Linked DNA regions of Homo sapiens: all the other regions are linked to region 2. Evidence: promoter capture Hi-C in 16 types of primary human blood cells and fetal thymus (Javierre and others, 2016). All regions are on one chromosome and are shown on one strand. Each heading gives the region's core, a stretch centred on a gene start or on the middle of the fragment in contact. The rest is flanking DNA. Distances are from core to core; before and after follow the strand shown.

Region 1 (2,700 bases), core at 161-2,660, 320 kb before region 2:
TTTGTCAGATGGGTAGATTGCAAACATTTTCTCCCATTCTGTAGGTTGCCTGTTCACTCTGATGGTAGTTTCTTTTGCTGTGCAGAAGCTTTTTAGTTTAATTAGGTCCCATTTGTCTATTTTGGCTTTTGTTGCCATTGCTCTTGGTGTTTTAGACATGAAGTCCTTGCCCATGCCTATGTCCTGAATGGTATTGCCTAGGTTTTCTTCTAGGGTTTTTATGATTTTAGGTCTTACATTTAAGTCTTTAATCCATCTTGAATTAATTTTTGTATAAGGTGTAAGGAAGGGATTCAGTTTCAGCTTTCTACATATGGCTAGCCAGTTTTCCCAGCACCATTTATTAAATAGGGAATCCATTTCCCATGGCTTGTTTTTGTCAGGTTTGTCAAAGATCAGATAGTTGTAGATGTGTGGTGTTATTTCTGAGGCCTCTGTTCTGTTCCATTGGTCTATATATCTGTTTTGGTACCAGTGCCATGCTGTTTTGCTTACTGTAGCCTTGTAGTATAGTTTGAAGTCAGGTAGCATGATGCCTCCAGCTTTGTTCTTTTTGCTTAGGATTGTCTTGGCTATGGGGGCTCTTTTTTGGTTCCGTATGAACTTTAAAGTAGTTTTTTCCAATTCTGCGAAGAAAGGCATTGGTAGCTTGATGGGCATAGCATTGAATCTATAAATTACCTTGAGCAGTATGACTATTTTCACGATATTGATTCCTCCTATCCATGAGCATAGAATATTCTTCCATTTGGTTGTGTCCTCTTAAAGAAAGGATGATTCTTAAAGAAAGGAAATGTAGAATCCCCCAGAAATGCTTTCAAAGGTTGAATCTCAAAATAAAGCCACACACACACTCTCACACACACTCTCACACACACATCACACATACATTCTCACATGCAAACTATATACATATTCTCACACATGCTCACACTCAATCCTCATTCACACACACACACTCACACACAATCCTCACTCACACCCACACACACATTCTCTCTCACACACACACACACACACACAGCTGACCACTGTCCCACCGTGTTTTGCCTCCCCACCCAGAAGCGTGCGTTCCTCCCACAGTGGTTTCCAAAGTGTCGTTCTGGATCCAGCAGCATCAACCTCCCCTTAGACTTCTTAGAAATGCACATTCTGGGGCCCCAGCCCCGACCTCCTGAGTCAGCTGGCCGGGGGGTGGGGCCTGGGAATCCGCGTTTAGACTGGCTCTCCCCCGGCCTGCCACGCGCTCCCGTCGGGGCCCACCCGCACCTGGGCCGGGGCTGGTGTCCACGCGCGACGGCTCGGGAGCACGGACCTCTGCTCCCCGCAGCACCGCCCCCCGGGTGGAGCCGGCGGCCCCGCCTCGCAGAGCTGGGGCTGTACCTGGGGCAACGGGGCCGGGCCTGGACGTCAGGTCGGAGGAGTAGCACCTGCCAGGAGCACGTCCCGCCGGCAGGTCGCAGGAGCCCTGGGAGCCGCCGCCATGGGTACGCTCGGCGGGTGGGGGGCCGGCCGGGCTAAAGACTCGGAGCTACGCGGGGCGGGGGCCGGCACCGAGGGCCGGGAGGCGCGAAGGGTACGCGGCGGCGGGAAGCGGGGCGACCCGAAGGCCCACGGGGGCCGGGAGGTTGCGGGGCGCCCGGGATCCCCTCCCGGGTGGTCACCGTGCGGCCGGGGCGCGGAAGCCAGAGGTGCCCAGAGGCGCCGACTCCGCCGAGGTTGCGATCCTGGCCCGCCCGCCCGTGGGGCACTGTAATCCTCGTATTCCCACCCTGCGGGCCGGGAGTGCGCTTGGAGCGGGACGGGACCCAGCGGGTGACGGCAGGGGCGGCAGAAACACCGTCTAACTGGCGGAAGCCTTGTGGCTGCCTTTGCACTTGTCTTGCCTCTGGCTGGCGAGGTGACCCTGGAGTTCCGCAGGGAACCCTGGCCCAAGAGGAGATGGGGCCTCTCTTTGTGGCCCCCTCTTAACCCTCTGCACTGTCCCCTGGCTTAATTTGAGGCACCTTCTGTGCCTTACAGAAGGTGAGGAGCTGGCTCTTGATGGGGCTGGAGCGTCAGCAAAACAGCTAGGAGGCAACTTGACTCCTGCCCCGCTTCCGAATTAATCACCCTGGAACTAAGGCAGACCCAGAGAGAATGAACGGAAGCAGAGCCAGAGCTGCTGGGAGCAGCCCAGCCCGCTGCTTTCTTAAAGATGAGGAAGCCCAGTCAGCTTCCCAAAGTTGTGCCATGGATGCCCCCGGCCAGCATTTTGCAGAAGATGTGGCCACGTTGTTGAGGGGGATCTGAGCCTGTAGACAGGAATGTCGGTCGGTGGCTGCCTCAGTGGTCCTGGTGGAGTGATGTGTGTCAGTGCCCAGCCCCAGGGTGCAGCCGTCCTCTGGCTCTCAGAATGCCTGCCGGACACAGCATGTGGTGGTTCCTAAGGAGAAGCAGTGAGTGGTTCACACTTTGGACTTCTAATTGTAGCCAGTTGTGCCTGTTCCAGAAAGACCTGCAACTTCCCTCTCTGGCGGAGACTGTGGCCGAGCTCAGCTCTGCAGGCAGATTCCTGGGCTGCAGTTCTGGGTCCCGCCCTCAAACAAGTCCCACCTGTCACTCTATGCAACTTTGCTGGGAGGTGCTCTGAACTATTTCTGTTGATCATCAAATACCAAATACCTGAGCAGCATCCTTGTTGAGTTGGAATTTATGACC
Region 2 (2,700 bases), core at 63-2,562:
TTCATCTCTTCAATTAAATGTAGGTGGGGGAAAACGAAGATAATTAATATGTATTATGTCATTTTCACAGAGCAAATCTCATTTGATCTTAATGACCTATGAGGGAGAGGCCATGGTCTCCATGTGCATGGTCCCCCGCCACCCCGGCACTGGTAGAGCGAGACTTTGAACCCAGGGCCACCTCCTCCAATCCAAGGTTCTTTCCATTGCAGTGGAAAACATTTCCTCAAAAAAAGGAATTCTTTATCAGTGGTCTGTTCACCATGTAGCATGAGATGCTAAATATTTTATAACTTTCAAAGCTGAGAGAAAATTACATCGATTCCACAGGGCTTTTCTGAGGGTTCCGTGTGGATGGGTAAATAAGGTCATTAAGTGCCGAGGCCTGGCAGGATCTTGTCACCAGCAGAGCTGAGGCCATCCCAGCTCTAATTTCTGCCAGCGCTTACCGCATGGCTCTTCTGACAATCTCTCACAACGTGGCTTCTGGTCAGTTCTGTAATTAGGCTTCCTGACAGAAATGCTCCAAAACAAGGAGAGCTTCCTTCCCCTGCCCTGAGTTACAGATGTCAAGTTTCCAGGGCAGCTGCTTGTTGGAAAAAGACTAAAAGCCCCTGAGATACTGGATCCTGCAGCAGCAGATCAAAGCAGCTACAGTGAGTTGTCTCTCGACCTGGGTGACGTAGCATTTGAAATGGGGGCGCCACAGGGTAAAGATCCCAGAGAGAGATTTGATGAGACGCAGCAACTGAATGATACGTTTGATTCCTGGGTGATGATGGCTTTCTAGGAAGGGAAGTGGAGAAGGCAGGCTTTGTTCCTGTCCTCCACATTGTCACTGGCCTGGAAGGAGTGTGTGCGGGAAGCCCTGTTGAGTAGGAATCACCTGCATCTCAGGCAGGGGGCTGGGGAGGGGTAGGCGACAGTGTCAGTGAACTTGCATCTCTCCTGGAATTGCTTTCCAGCTAAGATTTGGTATTTTAATTTTGAACTCAAATTAAATTATATATGGAAGATTGAATTTTAAAAAAACACTTCATACCTGCATGGGAATTTCTAGCATAATTTAATGCACTACCTTTCTGGCTTTATTACTATTTACCTAATTTTTTTTTTAATTTTCCATTTTCATTTATGTACATTTAAAAAAAATAAAATAAGCAATCTCAAATCTTCTGTGGGATATGGTAGGGGAAAAGGTAAAGAAGCGAATCACCCCGTAAGGAGAAAAAGCAGAATATGAGGTCAGAGGATTGCTTTATCTCCTCCGAACACAATGATTCTGAACTAACGACACTGTTGTGTTTTTCCAGTTGTCTCCCAGGTGGATGGAAAGAGGACATTTTGCTTTGCAAGGGTCTCTCTTCAAAAGGTTCAAATGTAAGTCCCTCCGATGCCTCCTTTCTGCTCCCCGCGCAGTGCATAGTGAGGCCACTGCTGCTTACCCTTCCCGGAACCACAAGATTGTCAATGCCAATCAAATCTTTCTTGAGTTCGTGCAGCTTCTGGAAATTCTCCATCTTGATCATCGTACCGTGGAGCTGTGCCACCATCTCCGTGATCTCTGCCAAAGCGGCTGTGAAGGAAAGACATACACAGTCTGCAGCGGGAAAGGCAGGCAGGGGTCTTCCCCTAGCAGCTGTCAGCTCAACGCTGCAGGGAAATCACTCCAGTCCCTGCACAGTATTCAAAGGTGTCTTTTGAGCAAAAACAGTGCTATTTCTCTATAATAAAAATTGATGGTGTATTTTCTGTATTTATTTGCTTCACTTTAGCATCTTAAAACTAAGTGACCCCTGCATGGTGACGTGGCATACAGCTGTCCTTCAATTAGACGGACCTGTTGGCTTAGAGGGGAAAGACACGGGGGAAGAAGACTGCCTTGAATTTTGTCCCTGGGTAGAGACTTTTCTTTTCCCTCCTGTTACTCGGAAAGAACAAGGCACAGTGAGCACAAAGAGGCCATAGAAAAATCTGGAGCAAAGTCAGCACCTCCTTGGGAGGAGGTGTAATTGATATTGTGAAGTGTCAGTATATTCCAGGTAACTAACATTCCACCACACCCCAGTTCTGTCTTGTGTGGAAATTACACTGTTTACCAAGATGGTTGTGAAGAATTGCTGTAGAATTCAAATTTTTTCTTTTCTTTTATTTGTTTGAGACAGAGTTTTGCTCTTGTTGCCCAGGCTGGAGTACAATGGCATAATCTCAGCTCACTGCAACCTCTGCCCCCAGGTTCAAGTGATTGTCCTGCCTCAGCCTCCCGAGTAGCTGGGATTACAGGTGCGTGCCACCACGCCCGGCTAATTTTGTATTTTCAGTAGAGACAAGGTTTCACCATGTTGGTTAGGCTGGTCTCGAACTCCTGACCTCAGGCGATCCACACGCCTTGGCCGCCCAAAGTGCTGGGATTACAGGCATGAGCCACCACATCAGGCCTTTATTTTTCGATAGAGGCACGGCTCCCCTATACTGGTGGGCATCCAATATTTAAAAGAAGCTAGTGCCTGATTAATACAAGCTTGGGTGGCACGCAAGTCCCCAGTGGCTGACAAGTTTGGGTGGCACTCAAGTCCCCAGCGGCTGAGCACTTGGGTAGTTTGGTCAAGAAAAGCAAGAAATACTTGTTGACTGAACTTCAGTCTTCAGAACTCTAAATACCTCTTTCACTGCTTTCCCCCAGCATTTCAGTGTTGGAAG
Region 3 (2,700 bases), core at 135-2,634, 260 kb after region 2:
TAAAGAGATAGAACCTAAATTAGAAAAAGAAATTGCATGTAACACTTTATGACATGCACTGGCTAAATAAGAACTAGAATCCATTTACATTATATAAATGAATTATTTCACAACTTGAAGATAAACTCAAGAAAAAAAAGGGTTAAAAATATTTGAAGGCGGGGTGCAGTGGCTCACGCCTGTAATACCAACATTTTAGGAGGCCAAGGTGGGTGGATCACCTGAGGTCAGGAGTTCCACACCAGCCTGGCCAACATGGTGAAACCCTGTCGCTACTAAAAACACAGAAGTTAGCTGGGTGTGGTGGCACACACCTGTAATCCCAGCTACTCAGGAGGCTGAGGCAGGAGAATTGCTTGAACCCGGGAGGCAGAGGTTGCAGTGAGCCGGGATCATGTAACTGCACTCCAGCCTGGGCGACAGAGCGAGACTCTTTCTCAAAAAAAAAAAAAAAAAAAAAAAATTAAAAATGATTATCTTAGGTACCAGGAATTGGCGTGTGGAGGGGCCAGGCAGGGGACAGCCAATTTCCATTACAATAAGTGCTTGATAATATTTTTTTAAATGTTTACATGTGTTACTTTTATTTCAAAATGAAAGCCAGCTACACACCCACAGGTGCAGTGTGATATGACAGTCTTTTAATAAAGGCTATATTAAAAGAATAGACACAAAAGTGTTGACAGTGGTTATCTTTGAGGGGAGGGATTATAGGCGTCTTACTTTTTGCTTGTATCTGTTTTTGTTTTCTGCACTGCGCGTGTGTTGCTTTTAAATACGCATTTCAAGCGCCTGTGTTTTAGGATGAGCACCACCGGTTCGCTATGGCCTGGAATGATTCCACCCGTGGCCTTTTAGGAATCTGTTGAAAAATGAGTGTGCACTGAGGGAGCTGAGGAGCAAGTGAAGATGACTCTCTCAAGGAATCCATCTGAGGGCCAGGAGGCAGGTCAAGGGAGGGAAGGGCGGGAGAAGCCTTTTTTTTTGGTTTTTTTTTTTTTAATTTGAGACAGGGTCTCGCTCTGTCACCCAGGCTAGAGTACAGTGGCGTGATCTCGGCTCACTACAACCTCTGCCTCCTGGGTTCAAGCGATTCTTCTGCCTCAGCCTCCCTAGTAGCTGGGACTTCAGGCGCACGCCACCACACCCAGGTAATTTTTGTATTTTTAGTAAGGATGGAGTTTCGCTATGTTGGCCAGGCTGGTCTTAAACTGCTGACCTCGGGTGATTCTCCCACCTCGGCCTCCCAGTGTCCCGGGATTACAAGAGTGAGTCACCGCGCCTGGCCTAGCAGAAGCTTTTCTTTCACTTGCTTTTGCTTTTTAGAACTGGGAGGGCCCACGCCCCACGTGCAGCGACGCAAGGGCGACGCAAGGGTGACGCACGCCACGGCCGTTGGGAGCCTGAGACTCAAACATGGCAGCGCCACCTTCTCCAGGAAGGACGGCCGACCAAGCAGACCAGGTATGCACCTTCCTCTTCAAAAAGCCTGGACGGAAAGGGGCTGCAGGCCTCAGAAAGCGCCCGGCCTGCGACCCCGAGCACGGAGAGAGCAGCAGCAGCGGGGACGAGGGCGACACAGTGGCTCAGCCCCCGCGGGTGGCACCGAGGCCCCGGGGCCTCCACAGCTGGCAGAAGGCGGCTCACGGCGACAGGAGGGGCGAGGAGGCGGCGCCTGAGAGCCTCGACGTGGTGTACAGGTCCACCCGCTCGGCGAAGCCTGTGGGGCCAGAGGACATGGGGGCCACCGCTGACTTCGAGCAGGACACCGAGAAGGAGCACCATACGCCGACCATCCTCAAGTGCAGCCAGCGGGTCCAGGAGGCACTGCGGGGTCGGGAGCACGACCACATCTACCGGGGAATCCACAGCTACCTGAGGTACCTGAAGCCCAAGGACACGTCCATGGGCAACTCCTCCTCGGGGATGGCGAGGAAGGGCCCCATACGTGCGCCAGGGCATCTGCGCGCCACTGTGCGCTGGGATTACCAGCCTGACATCTGCAAGGACTACAAGGAGACTGGCTTCTGTGGCTTCGGGGACAGCTGCAAATTCCTCCACGACCGTTCCGATTACAAGCTCGGGTGGGAGATTGAACGGGAGCTTGAAGAGGGTCGCTACTGTATCTGCGAGGACGAAAACCATGAAGTGGGAAGCGAGGAAGAGGAAATACCATTCAGGTGTTTCATATGTCGCCAGGCCTTCCAAAACCCAGTCGTCACCAAGTGCAGGCATTATTTCTGCGAGAGCTGCGCGCTGGAGCACTTCCGGGCCACCCCGCGCTGCTACATCTGTGACCAGCCAACCGGCGGCATCTTTAACCCCGCCAAAGAACTGATGGCGAAACTGCAAAAGCTTCAGGCTGCAGAAGGTGGGGGCAAGTCCCATTTCACAGAAGACCCCCATGAGTGTCCAATTCCCATGGCTTAGGTTTCCCATAATTCTCACATTTAAATAAATTTTTTTGTTCTTTTAGGAAAAAAGAGATAAGAAAGACTCAAGTCTGTATGTACACTGGGGAGAAGCAGCCTGTTGAGTAAGATGAGAGAGATGACAGTCTTCCTGCAATCCCATGCCTGAGTATGTAACCAAAAGAATTGAAATCCGGATCTCAAAGAGGTATGTGCACTCCCATGTTCACTGCAGAATTATTTGCAAAAGCCAAGAGGTGTAAACAACCCAAGTGTCCATGGATGGATG

What was found. Contacts are between HindIII fragments. The CHiCAGO score rates a contact against its expected background, and 5 or more counts as called.
Region 1: the fragment with the promoter of SLC15A1 here is called in contact with the fragment with the promoter of FARP1-AS1 in region 2 in 9 of 17 cell types (activated CD4 T cells, M0 macrophages, erythroblasts and 6 more); the score reaches 10.8 in activated CD4 T cells.
Region 3: a contact is called between the fragment with the promoter of RNF113B here and the fragment with the promoter of FARP1-AS1 in region 2, in 2 of 17 cell types (erythroblasts and endothelial precursors). The highest score is 6.6, in erythroblasts.

Annotation. Positions count from the first base shown.
Region 1 is chr13:98,751,382-98,754,081 of GRCh38, reverse strand. SLC15A1 (solute carrier family 15 member 1) reads left to right here and starts at 1,410. Exons shown (of 23, transcript NM_005073.4): 1 at 1,410-1,487. The coding sequence starts at 1,484. The HindIII fragment of the contact is 4,199 bases long and covers 91-2,700 here.
Region 2 is chr13:98,434,452-98,437,151 of GRCh38, reverse strand. FARP1-AS1 (FARP1 antisense RNA 1) reads left to right here and starts at 1,312. Exons shown (of 2, transcript NR_046595.1): 1 at 1,312-1,380; 2 at 1,494-1,747. It overlaps FARP1 (FERM, ARH/RhoGEF and pleckstrin domain protein 1), which reads right to left. Exons shown (of 27, transcript NM_005766.4): 19 at 1,446-1,576. The HindIII fragment of the contact is 3,650 bases long and covers 1-2,523 here.
Region 3 is chr13:98,175,953-98,178,652 of GRCh38, reverse strand. RNF113B (ring finger protein 113B) reads left to right here and starts at 1,384. Exons shown (of 2, transcript NM_178861.5): 1 at 1,384-2,371; 2 at 2,477-2,700. The coding sequence starts at 1,417. The coding sequence ends at 2,490. All of the region lies in intron 1 of FARP1 (FERM, ARH/RhoGEF and pleckstrin domain protein 1), which reads right to left. The HindIII fragment of the contact is 1,058 bases long and covers 1,300-2,357 here.